Regions from separate parts of the Homo sapiens genome. Here regions 2 and 3 are each linked to region 1. The links are contacts of gene promoters, found by promoter capture Hi-C in blood cells and fetal thymus (Javierre and others, 2016). All regions are on one chromosome and are shown on one strand. The core of a region is centred on a gene start or on the middle of the fragment in contact, and the rest is flanking DNA. Distances in the headings are between cores, read along the strand shown. Region 1 holds the start of MARCKSL1 (MARCKS like 1). Region 2 overlaps KPNA6 (karyopherin subunit alpha 6). Region 3 overlaps TXLNA (taxilin alpha).

What was found. Contacts are between HindIII fragments. The CHiCAGO score rates a contact against its expected background, and 5 or more counts as called.
Region 2: a contact is called between a fragment that was not itself captured here and the fragment with the promoter of MARCKSL1 in region 1, in 1 of 17 cell types (total CD8 T cells). The highest score is 5.4, in total CD8 T cells.
Region 3: a contact is called between a fragment that was not itself captured here and the fragment with the promoter of MARCKSL1 in region 1, in 8 of 17 cell types (non-activated CD4 T cells, activated CD4 T cells, naive B cells and 5 more). The highest score is 8.4, in non-activated CD4 T cells.

The regions. Positions count from the first base shown.
Region 1 is chr1:32,334,403-32,337,988 of GRCh38, forward strand. MARCKSL1 (MARCKS like 1) reads right to left here and starts at 1,831. Exons shown (of 2, transcript NM_023009.7): 1 at 1,545-1,831; 2 at 1-695. The coding sequence starts at 1,631. The coding sequence ends at 195. LOC124903949 (a long non-coding RNA gene) reads left to right here and starts at 975. Exons shown (of 2, transcript XR_007065661.1): 1 at 975-1,102. RefSeq lists silencers at 653-1,092, 1,233-1,312, 1,443-1,592, 1,613-2,142, 3,076-3,204 and enhancers at 1,484-2,053, 2,323-2,412. The HindIII fragment of the contact is 20,076 bases long and covers 1-3,586 here.
Region 2 is chr1:32,159,101-32,162,686 of GRCh38, forward strand. It overlaps KPNA6 (karyopherin subunit alpha 6), which reads left to right. Exons shown (of 14, transcript NM_012316.5): 6 at 300-431; 7 at 1,515-1,603; 8 at 2,847-2,946; 9 at 3,261-3,424. Among named protein-coding and RNA genes, the nearest start is that of TXLNA, 19 kb to the right of the region's middle. The HindIII fragment of the contact is 1,103 bases long and covers 1,478-2,580 here.
Region 3 is chr1:32,181,006-32,184,591 of GRCh38, forward strand. TXLNA (taxilin alpha) reads left to right here. Exons shown (of 11, transcript NM_175852.4): 3 at 237-572; 4 at 3,520-3,586. Among named protein-coding and RNA genes, the nearest start is that of TXLNA, 3.1 kb to the left of the region's middle. The HindIII fragment of the contact is 4,926 bases long and covers 1-3,586 here.

The DNA.
Region 1 (3,586 bases), core at 581-3,080:
TTAAGAGGAGAACCAGATGGCTGATGGGAGAATCCACAGGAGGGAGAGGAGGAAAGGGAACGTGGCTGGGAGGAGGCAATAGCCCCTTCCTTTCTGGGCACAGGAAGGCAGCCAGGGCACCAGGTCCAGGCAGTGACCTCACAAGGACAGCACAGTTTTTGCAGCTTAGAGATCACCCACCTGCCCCTACCTAGCTACTCATTCTGCTCAGCGCTGGCTGGTGTAGGGCCACTCTCCGGCCCCGAGGGAGTGGATGGCTCTGTAGCCTGGGGCCCTGCCTCTTCTTCTGAGGCTGCACTAGCCTCTGCCCCCTTGGCCTGGGGTTCCTGGCTCTCAGGGGTGGCTGCGGCCTTCCCTTCCTGAGCAGTGCCCTCGTCGCTGCAGGCACCGATCTCCCCCTGCTCCTGCTCTTCCTCTGTGGGTGAGGAGGCAGAAGAATCACCCCCACCCTCCTTCCGATTTCTCTTGAAGGACAGGCCGCTCAATTTGAAAGGCTTCTTGAAAGAGAATTTCTTCTTCTTCTTGGGGGTCTCCTTGGGGGGGACCTCCCCCTTGGCCTCAGCACCCTGGCTAGGGGGTGCTGGCTCGATGGCATCGCCAGTGGCCCCGGCTGCCTCATCTGTTCCGTTCACAGGGGGCGACTCCCCTTCACCCTTGGGGGATAAGTCTCCATTGCTTTTCACGTGGCCATTCTCCTGCAGGGCAGAGGGAATAGCAATGAGGGCAGGGGCTCCCCCTCCCCCAGCCCGCTTCTGATCCCTTCTAGAGGAAGGGGTCCTCGATTCGATTCTACTGCAACCCGAAAGTCTGGCTTCAGCCTCACCCACACCCAGGATCCCGTCAAACACCTCCCTCTCGCCCCTCACGGGCGCGCGGGGAGCGAGCGCGCAGAGGGCGCGACCGGCAGGAGGCGCTGGGGTCCCGTGGCCCCCACCCCCGTCCCCCGGGGCGCGCTCTCTATTCCGCGCGGAACCGCTCCGGATCTGCTGTGCGGATCCCGGGCAGGCGGGCGAGCCGCTCTAGGCGACATTGGGCGGGAAGCCGCCCCGGGGCGCTGTCTCTCTGCACCTGGACGGCCTATTTTCCCAGCCTCCCGCTTTGTGTAAGTGGCCCCCACCCACCCCAGGCTCTCCCGCATCTCGGCTCCCCCTTAAAAAAAAAAAGACCGTGGGCCACCGAGGTCGGGTCGGCGGGTGGAGTGCGCTCCCCGCCGGGCCCCAGCTCCGCGGCCCCTGGGCGCCCCCTTGGCGTGGCCCAGCAGCGCCTTTGTTCCCCGCGCGGCACTCGGGGCGGCCGGGGGGCAGCGCCGGGGACCGGGGCCGCGAACAAAGAAGGCGGCAGGGCCCGGCCGGCGCCCCCTCCCCGCCCCTCCCCTCGCTTCGCCCGCGGGGGCTGCGGCGCCGAGAACAAAGGGACCGGGCGGGGGAGGGGGCGCCGCGTGTCCCGGGCCGGACAAAGCGCGCGGCCCCGGCCCCGGCCCCGGGCCCTAGAAGGGGCGAGGTGCGAGAGGAGGGGCTGGGGCCGGCCGGGCCAAGCGTACCCACCTGGCCGTTGGCCTTCGCGGGGGAAGCGCCTGCTGCCTCCTCGGCGGTCACGTCGCCCCGGGGAGCCTTGGAGCTCTGGCTGCCCATGATGGGGGTCTGCTGGGGGGCGCTTGGAGCCGCCCCGGGCTCGCGCCGCAGGGGATAGTACGGCGGGGTCGGCCCGGCCGGCGGAGGGGTGGGGCTGGCGCCCGAGGGGGAGGGGTGCCGGGGGAAGCCGAGCTGCACCTCCGCTCCGCGGCCGACCCGCTAGCTGCGCCCGCCGCCGCTCCGCTCCGCGCCAGAATGCCGCCCGCCGCCCGCCGAGCTGCCTATATATAAGCGCCCGGAGCTCGGGGCGGGGCCGGACATTTAAATGCGCGCCCAATCGAGGGGCGGAGGCGGGGTTGGCTCGCAGGCCCCACTTGCGCAGCAGGCGACGCTGGCGGTCGGGTACCCCCCACCCCACCCGAATCCCAGGGGCAGGTAGAGTCCGGTGTGGGCAGGAGCGAGGCCAGTCCTCCCGCGAGCTGGGCGGGGCGGGGCGGGGGGCCTGGAGGAAGGAGACGGGCAGTCATTCCATCCTCTCCGCTCCACCTCTCCGGTGGGCGCCCCCGCAGCCTGGAGCGGCCCCCAACGCCTTGGTCCTGCAGCCGCTGGCAGTCTCCCGCTTGAACCCTTCGAAGGGCTCACACGACCAGGCTCGTCAGATGGCTGGTCCTGAATTATACTCTAGAAATGTGGTCATAGAAGCTGCAGGGCCCCTGCGCTGGGCTCGGCACCCGCTCCGGCCTGGAGAGCGGTCAGAGGTCCCACCCACGTCCCTGCCTGCCTGCCATGGCCAGCCGGGGAGCGGAGGGCTCTGCCTTGCCTCGGGGTCACTCTGGTCGGACTAGTGAGGCCTTTCCCTCATTCCTCCTTTCAGTCCCTTGGTGGCCAGTCATTCTGAGTGGGGACAGACAGATTCGCCTTGAGCCCCTCCTGCCCTCAGCCTGGACCCACTGCAAAGTCCCACGTGGGGGACTTTGTGACCTTGAAGGGCATCTCCATCCCCATTGAAAGGCCAAGGCTCAGAGGCATTGACAACCTGTCTGACTTGGCTCTGGTCCTTCCTCTTTACCTCCACACACAACTCTGCTCCCCTACATCAGGGTGCCCCAGGCCGGCAGAGGAACCCCAGCTGGGGACTCAACAAACCTCAAAACACCCCAGTTTCTGAAGGGGAGGGATAGGATGCTACCAAGGGTCCCTTCAAGGGACAGCCCCTTGAGGACAGCCCTCAAAGCTGCCCAGCCCAGCTTCCCACCCTGCCTGAGAGCAAGGGAGCCCGGAGGTGCTCCGGGCTGGAGACTCCCTAGCTTTGGTCCTCTGCCACCTCTCCTTCTGCTGGCCTGGATAGGCTGGTGGGAACCCCAGAATCCTGGCCGGCCCCGGATGTCTGTGTCCGGCTGCCAGCCCTCAGCCCCCAGGAGGAAAGGGATGGGGGCTGGAAGGAAGCAAAGTGTTGCAAATGCAAGGCTGTGTCCCAGCCAGCTCAGCAAGTCCCTCCCCTCCCTCCTACGGTGAAGCCTCCTGGGAGGCCTGAGGCTGTGAAGTGTGGAGACACCCCAGGGCCTGAGAAATTGGGAACTCCCCAGAGATCTGACCACAGAGGGGCGGGGAGGGCTGAGGTGGCTTCTGCATTCTGCACTCACTCCTGTATCCTCCATCCCCACCCCCACCCTGAGACTACAGAATACCCTCAGCTATCTCAGCTTCACTTGCCCCCCACCCCCGCCCCATTTCACAGACTGGGACCCTGAGGTTCAGGAAGAGAAAGTGACATGCCCAAGGGCACACAGCAGCTACCAGTAGCTGAGGGTGAGAAAAGGCTTGGAGAGGTTTGATAACATGGGCCAAGGGCTGTAAGGAATCCCCTGGCAGAATTTTCTGTTGAGATCTGGGGCTGCCTGGTCAGAGTGGGAGGCAAGGGCTAGCTTTGGGACGGGGAGAGGCACTGTGCCCCCACTGCAGCTCACTGAAAGTACCGTGACTTCTCCACAGCTTGCCACTAAGGGAAGGATGTC
Region 2 (3,586 bases), core at 779-3,278, 180 kb before region 1:
AGGATGCATGGGTGTTGTGGTAGTGCAGGACTAAACCTGGGACCCTGGAAGCCCAATGTCTTATTCTCATCTATATCACATCACTGCATCTTCCCACTCTCTAAAGACGGGAGGGGAAAGGCTTGTATTTTATGTGTGTGTGTTTTAAATTCGTGGGCAAGAGGCTTGCTTGTGTTTTGTGAGGTTTTGTTTTGGTTTTTTAAATTCATGGGCAGGAGGCTTACTGTTCTGAGCCAGCTGATAGGCATGGCTGCTCAGTCTGAAATGACCTTTCAATCATTGCTTAATCTCACTTTCAGTTTGAAGCTGCCTGGGCTCTAACGAATATTGCCTCTGGAACCTCTCAGCAGACCAAAATTGTCATTGAAGCAGGGGCTGTCCCCATTTTTATAGAGCTGCTTAATTCAGACTTTGAGGATGTTCAGGAACAGGTAATGCTTAGATTTGGTGTGATTCTTTATAGTACCTGTGGTATAATAAAAAATATATTTGGTCTTTGTCCTGGTTCTTGGCACAGTGTTAAAACTCTTGGAATTTCCTGAGTGATAGGGGTGTCAAGTACAGATGGCCCCTGGGACTTGCAACTGGTATCTCAAGTTGGGGCAGTCTTGTGGGACTAACCTGCGGACTCTGCATTAACTCTAGGTGTTAGAGTCAGAATTGAATTAAATCGTTGGACACATGGTTGGTATCAGAGAATGGGTGGTTGATGTGGAAAAAACTCTATACATTTGTTGTTGGAAGTGCCATTGGAAAAAAGACACCACAGTACCCATATCTGAGTACCCACAAATCATGGAGATAAAGATACAACTTCCATTTCTCCCATTGAATTCTTACTAGTTGGATAGAATTGGAGAGTGGTAGTGGGCTCTTTTATAGACTTGGTCCAAGGCAGCTACAAGAGTGCAACTTTCGCCAGGCGCGGTGGCTCACGCCTATAATCCCAGCACTTTGGGAGGCCGAGGTGGGCAGATCACGAGGTCAGGAGTTCAAGACCAGCCTGACCAACATGGTGAAACTCCATCTCTACTAAAAATACTAAAAAGTTAGCTGGGCATGGTGGAGCTTACCTGTAATCCCAGCTATTCAGGAGGCTTGAGACAGGAGAATCACTTGAACCCGGGAGGTGGAGGTTACAGTGAGCAGAGATTGTGCCACTGCACTCCAGCCTGGGTGACAGAGCGAGACTCCGTCTCAAAAAAAAAAAAAAAAAAAAATGCAACTTTCTGATTACTTTCTCCTTTTCTGGGCGATATTGTTTTGGCTTCTGTGGCTATAGTACAGATGGCAGCCTGTCTTTCCCTGCTGAACCAGGAACTCCCAGGGATAGGTCATTGTAGAACAAGTGCTCAGTAAGAATTTCAATAGGGAGGTTACCTGAGCTTGTGTAGTATATTTGGGGCCTTGACATCATTCTCATCCTGGTGGGTACTCACTTTGCAGTTGTGGCTATAAAGTACTCACAGGAGTACCAAGCTTTGTGGGTGACAGTTTCATTATCCCCTTTTCAGGCAGTCTGGGCACTGGGAAACATAGCTGGAGATAGCTCTGTTTGCCGAGATTACGTCTTGAACTGTTCCATCCTTAATCCTTTGTTAACGTGAGTAATTATAATCATCTGTACCTGGGCGTCTACTGGGTGGCCACGTGGCAGGTCATTTGGGGGCAGCATACTTGATTCCTTAAGATGATAGGTAAGTGCAAAAACTATAAAAATGCATTCTGATTGCCAAAGTAAAAGATAGGTATCTTTGGAGATTGAGAAGGTTGTGGCCGGGCATGGTGGCTTATGCCTGTAATCCCAGCACTTTGGTAGGCCAGAGCAGGTGGATCCCTTGAGCCTAGAGTTCAAAACCAGCCTGGGCAACATGGTGAAACCCCAACTCTACAAAAAATACAAAAGTTAGCCAGGTGTGGTGGCAGGCACCTGTAGACTCAGCTACTTGGGAGGCTGAGGCAGGGAGGATCACCTGAGCCCAGGGAGATCAAGGCTACAGTGAGCTGTGATTGATCACACCACTGCACTTCAGCCTGGGCAAAAGAGTGAAAAAAAAAAAAGATTGTGCCACCCATCTGCCAAAAAGGATCTTGTTCCTCACTTCATGGCACTGCAGAACCTCATGTTAGTCATATCCTCATATCCTCCTCATTGTTGAGCCAGGGGAGAGAGGCAGGACTAGCCCACCTGGAAAAATCCAACCTTCTCTACAAAATGCATTGATTTGTTATGGGGTTTTGCATACATACATCGGACAGCTCTGTCGTAAATTATAGATCAAAGACCCCGTGAAGCGTCATTGTATCCTTCTCCCATCCTTCCCTCCGTACCCTTAGAGTAAACTATGCCTAAACCAAAACAGATGAATGAACTGTTCTTCAGAGACCACAGTCTCATAGCCTACCACTGTCACTTTCTTGGACCCTTCACAGAAAATTATTCCATACTGTGTGGCTAAAGCTCTCACAGTAGACCTATAGCTTTTATTTCTTAGACTTTTAGCTTTTATTTCCAGAGAACACCATTCCTTGTCCTGGACTTGTGGCCAGGGTTATGGGCATGATATATCCCACTTTAGAAGCTTTACAGGCTTACTCCAGATCTAGCCCTCTGTTTCGTCCCTATTATCTATGGTATTAACTAGCCACAGCTGGTCCTGAAATGAATACTCTGTATAGAGCCTGGCCTCCTAACCTATACCAGCTCTATTAACTTAGGTCTGTGAGTAGGAAGAAACAGGCTGCTAGAGTCTGAGAGGTCTCATTGGATTTGTCTCTGGGTTCATTGGCAACAGTCCTATGCCAAGGCCTCAGTGCTCAGGATCTGGCTTTGCTGTTTCCTTCAGACTCCTTACCAAGTCCACACGACTGACGATGACACGGAATGCAGTCTGGGCCCTGTCAAATCTCTGCCGAGGGAAAAACCCACCCCCAGAGTTTGCAAAGGTGAGAGAGCTACTTACTAGACCCTGAGTGACATCAGGTTCCTTCATATGGAGTTTTTAAGTCTTTGGGATACTCCTTGGAGTCTCAAATCATGGGAAACTGAAAGAAGCAATTGTTAGTGAAGTAGATGATCTTGTGTACCTGGATAGTAAAGTGAAAAGGTAGACCCAAATGTTTAATGTAGTAGCGATCCCTAGGGTCTGGAATTACTTGTGTGTGTGTATTGTGGGGGCGGTGGTTGCAATGTTAGGGTTCGTGATAGAGCTGATATAGTCTTGTTCCCCTGTGAGTCTTTCTCACTCTGCTTCCCACAGGTCTCTCCTTGTTTGCCTGTACTGTCTCGCCTACTCTTCAGCAGCGACTCGGACTTGCTGGCAGATGCTTGCTGGGCCCTTTCTTATCTGTCTGATGGCCCCAATGAGAAGATCCAGGCAGTCATAGACTCCGGAGTCTGCCGGAGATTGGTAGAGCTGCTGATGTGAGTGGTCTTAGAAGGGGTACAGGTTCTGGCTGGGCACGGTGGCTTATGCTTATAATCCCAGCACTTTGGGATGCCAAGGTGGGCGGATCACAAGGTCAGGAGTTCGAGACCAGCCTGACCAACATGGTGAAACCCCGTCTCTACTAAAAATACAAAAAT
Region 3 (3,586 bases), core at 434-2,933, 150 kb before region 1:
AAAGAAGTTAGGCAACGATTACTATAATTTCTTGATTTAAAAGATGTTTCGAATCTAAATTCTGACAGGAACTAGATTTGCTGAATGATACTCCATTCTTGCTTCTCAGTTTCCATAAAAAAAAAAGTTAGGCAACATTTAACTCAAACTGATGAGTTTGGCTGGGCCTGAAAAATCCCAACCAGTGGTATAATCGTCTTCTTTCTCACTCTACCCCTCATCCTCTCCTGCTGTAGGGGCTCAAGCCAGAACGGCTCAGTCTGGGGCCCTTCGTGATGTCTCTGAGGAGCTGAGCCGCCAACTGGAAGACATACTGAGCACATACTGTGTGGACAATAACCAGGGGGGCCCCGGCGAGGATGGGGCACAGGGTGAGCCGGCTGAACCCGAAGATGCAGAGAAGTCCCGGACCTATGTGGCAAGGAATGGGGAGCCTGAACCAACTCCAGTAGTCAATGGAGAGAAGGAACCCTCCAAGGGGGATCCAAACACAGAAGAGATCCGGCAGAGTGACGAGGTCGGAGACCGAGACCATCGAAGGCCACAGGAGAAGAAAAAAGCCAAGGGTTTGGGTGAGCAGAGGGCGGCTCTTTGTGAAGCTGGTGAGGAGAGGGAGTTTGGACTTGACGTTCTCTGGGCCAGTCTGTTCTGCCAGGATTCAAAGGAAAACGGTACTTCTCAGAGCAGCAAGTCACTCTAGTCTAATCAAAGCCAGGGATGTGGGGGCCACGGCATAGAGAGATGCAGGAGTTACCAGCACAAAGCCTTCTGGGTTTTGGAGCAACTGGAGCTTGGCATGGGACCTGTTCTCTCTTTGAGAAAATGGAGACGGGAGGCTAGGGTAGGCTCCTGTGCCAGCCAGTACTACCTGCTGTGTGACCTTGGGTGTGTCCCTTCTCCTCTCTGGGTCTTAGTTTATATTTCTCTTTACAGTAAGAAAATTAGACTAGGCCAGAGTTGAAAACCCAAATATCTGCATAAGCTGGGCTGGCCATGGGGCCACCTGAAGATGGAGGCTTTACTGCTTCCTGATTAGTTGCTCTCAGCTAGCCAACTGAGAGCAGGCAAAACTACAGGCTGGGTGCAGTCAGGCTTTTTTTTTTTTTTTTTTTTTTTAAATAAAGAAAAGCCAGAAATCTAGAGTTATGTGAGAACTCTAGATTTTTTCATAGTTAGCAGCTAAAATGGTAAGAGCCAAACAAAACCCATCCGTGGGTTGGATTTGGCACACATGCCTGCGAATTGCAGTCTCCATGCTGATCTCTTGGGCCCTTCTGGGGAGGCAGAGGGAAGGCTCCCTGACTCAGTCACAGGCAATGGGGAATAGGCAGTGACAGTCATTTTACAGCAGGGTATGTATGTTTAAGAGTCTAGGCCGGGTGTGGTGGCTCACGCCTGTAATTGCAGCACTTTGGGAGGCCGAGGCGGGTGGATCACCTGAGGGTCAGGAGTTCGAGAACAGCCTGGCCAACATGATGAAATCCCGTCTCTACTAAAAATACAAAAATTAGCTGGACATGCTGGCACACGCCTGTAATCCCAGCTACTTGGGAGGCTGAGGCAGGAGAATGGCTTGAACCCGGGAGGCAGAGGTTGCAGTGAACTGAGATTGTGCCACTACATCCAGCCTGGGTGACAAGAGTGAAACTCTGTCTCAAAAAAAAAAAAAAAGAATCTAGAATCTAAGTCGAGTGTCATTATATCCATGTTTTATTCCTATTCCCTTTTCCCCTTATGTATCCTCTTACTTTAAAGAGGAACTTTAAAAAATCTTAGGGACGACTAGGCAGAGTGGCTCACACCTGTAACTCCAGCACTTTGGGAGGCCAAGGCAGGCAGATTATGAGGTCAGGAGTTCGAGACCAGCCTGGCCAACATGGTGAAACCCCAGTTCTACTAAAGATACAAAAAATCAGCCGGGCGTGGTGGCACGTGCCTATAATCCCAGATACTCGGGAGGCTGAGGCAGGAGAATCACTTGAACCCGTGAGGCAGAGTTTTCAGTGAGCTGAGATCATGCCATTGCACTCCAGCCTGGGTGACAGGGTGAGACTCCATCTCAAAAAAAGAAAAAGGAAAAAATCTTAACGTCACATACATGGAAAGTATCATCTTCTTCACCCCCCACCCCCAACTGAGATGGAGTCTTGCTCTGTCACCCAAGCTGGAGTGCACTGGCGCGATCTCAGCTCCCTGCAAGCTCCGCCTCCCGGGTTCACACCATTCTCCTGCCTCAGCCTCCCGAGTAGCTGGGACTACAGGCGCCTGCCACCATGCCCGGCTAATTTTTGTATTTTTTTAGTAGTGACAGGGTTTCACTGTGTTAGCCAGGATAGTCTCGATCTCCTGACCTCATGATCCGCCCACCTGGGCCTCCCAAAGTGCTGGGATTACAGGCGTGGGCCACCGTACCCTGCCTTTTTTTTTTTTTTTTTTTTTTGAGATGGAGCCTCGCTCTGTCCCTAGGTTGGAGTGCAGTGGCGCGATCTCGGCTCACTGCAAGCTCCACCTCCTGGGTTCACGCCATTCTCCTGCCTCAGCCTCCCGAGTAGCTGGGACTACAGGCTCCTGCTACCATGCCCGGCTAATTTTTTTGTATTTTTTTTAGTAGAGACGGGGTTTCACTGTGTTAGCCAGGATGGTTTTGATCTCCTGACCTCGTGATCCGCCCGCCTCAGCCTCCCAAAGTGCTGGGATTACAGGCGTAAGCCACTGTACCCTGCCTTTTTTTTTTAATTAATTAATTTTTTTAGACAGAGTCTCGCTCTGTCACCAAGCTGGAGTGCAGTGGCGCGATCTGGGCTCACTGCAACCTCCGCCTCCTGGGTTCAAGCGATTCTCCTACCTCAGCCTCCGGAGTAACTGGGACTACAGGCGCGTGCCACCACACCAAGCTAATTTTTTTGTGTATGTCTTTAGTAGAGATGGGGTTTCACCATGTTAGGATGGTCTCGATCTCTTGACCTCGTGATCCGCCTGCCTCGGCCTCCCAAAGTGCTGGGATTACAGGCATGAGCCACCTTGCCTGGCCGAAAGTATCTTCATTTTAAAGTTCACTGTTTGGCTACTCTGTTGACAAGAGTTTAGTATTTCTCAAGGAGGCTAAGATACCTATTCCTTTTTGGATCCTACCTCTATCAGGAGGGTGGGCCTTCCTTGCATTGAAACAGTATGAAACAGTAGCCCTGAATTCATAAGTGGGACACCTTTCTTCTATTGGTAGAGCAGGCAGTTTTTTTCTCCTGCCAATGGTGCCTACTAAGGAGATTTCACTAGGGTACAGTCGTTCATTTGATAAGCATTTGTTGAGCATATCCTCTGTGATGGTACTATGGACAGTACTGGGGCTATAGTGAGGGCAGGATTGAGTTGGTCCTTATGGCAAGGAAGGCAGCTAATCAACAAGCAAAATATAAAGTATGATGGGGAGGGCTGTCTTCAGCACTCATGAGTGTGAGCCCAGGCCTGGAGGGGACACCTGGAGAAGAGGGTGCATGTCTTTGCTCCTGTGCTTTTCAGGGAAGGAGATCACGTTGCTGATGCAGACATTGAATACTCTGAGTACCCCAGAGGAGAAGCTGGCTGC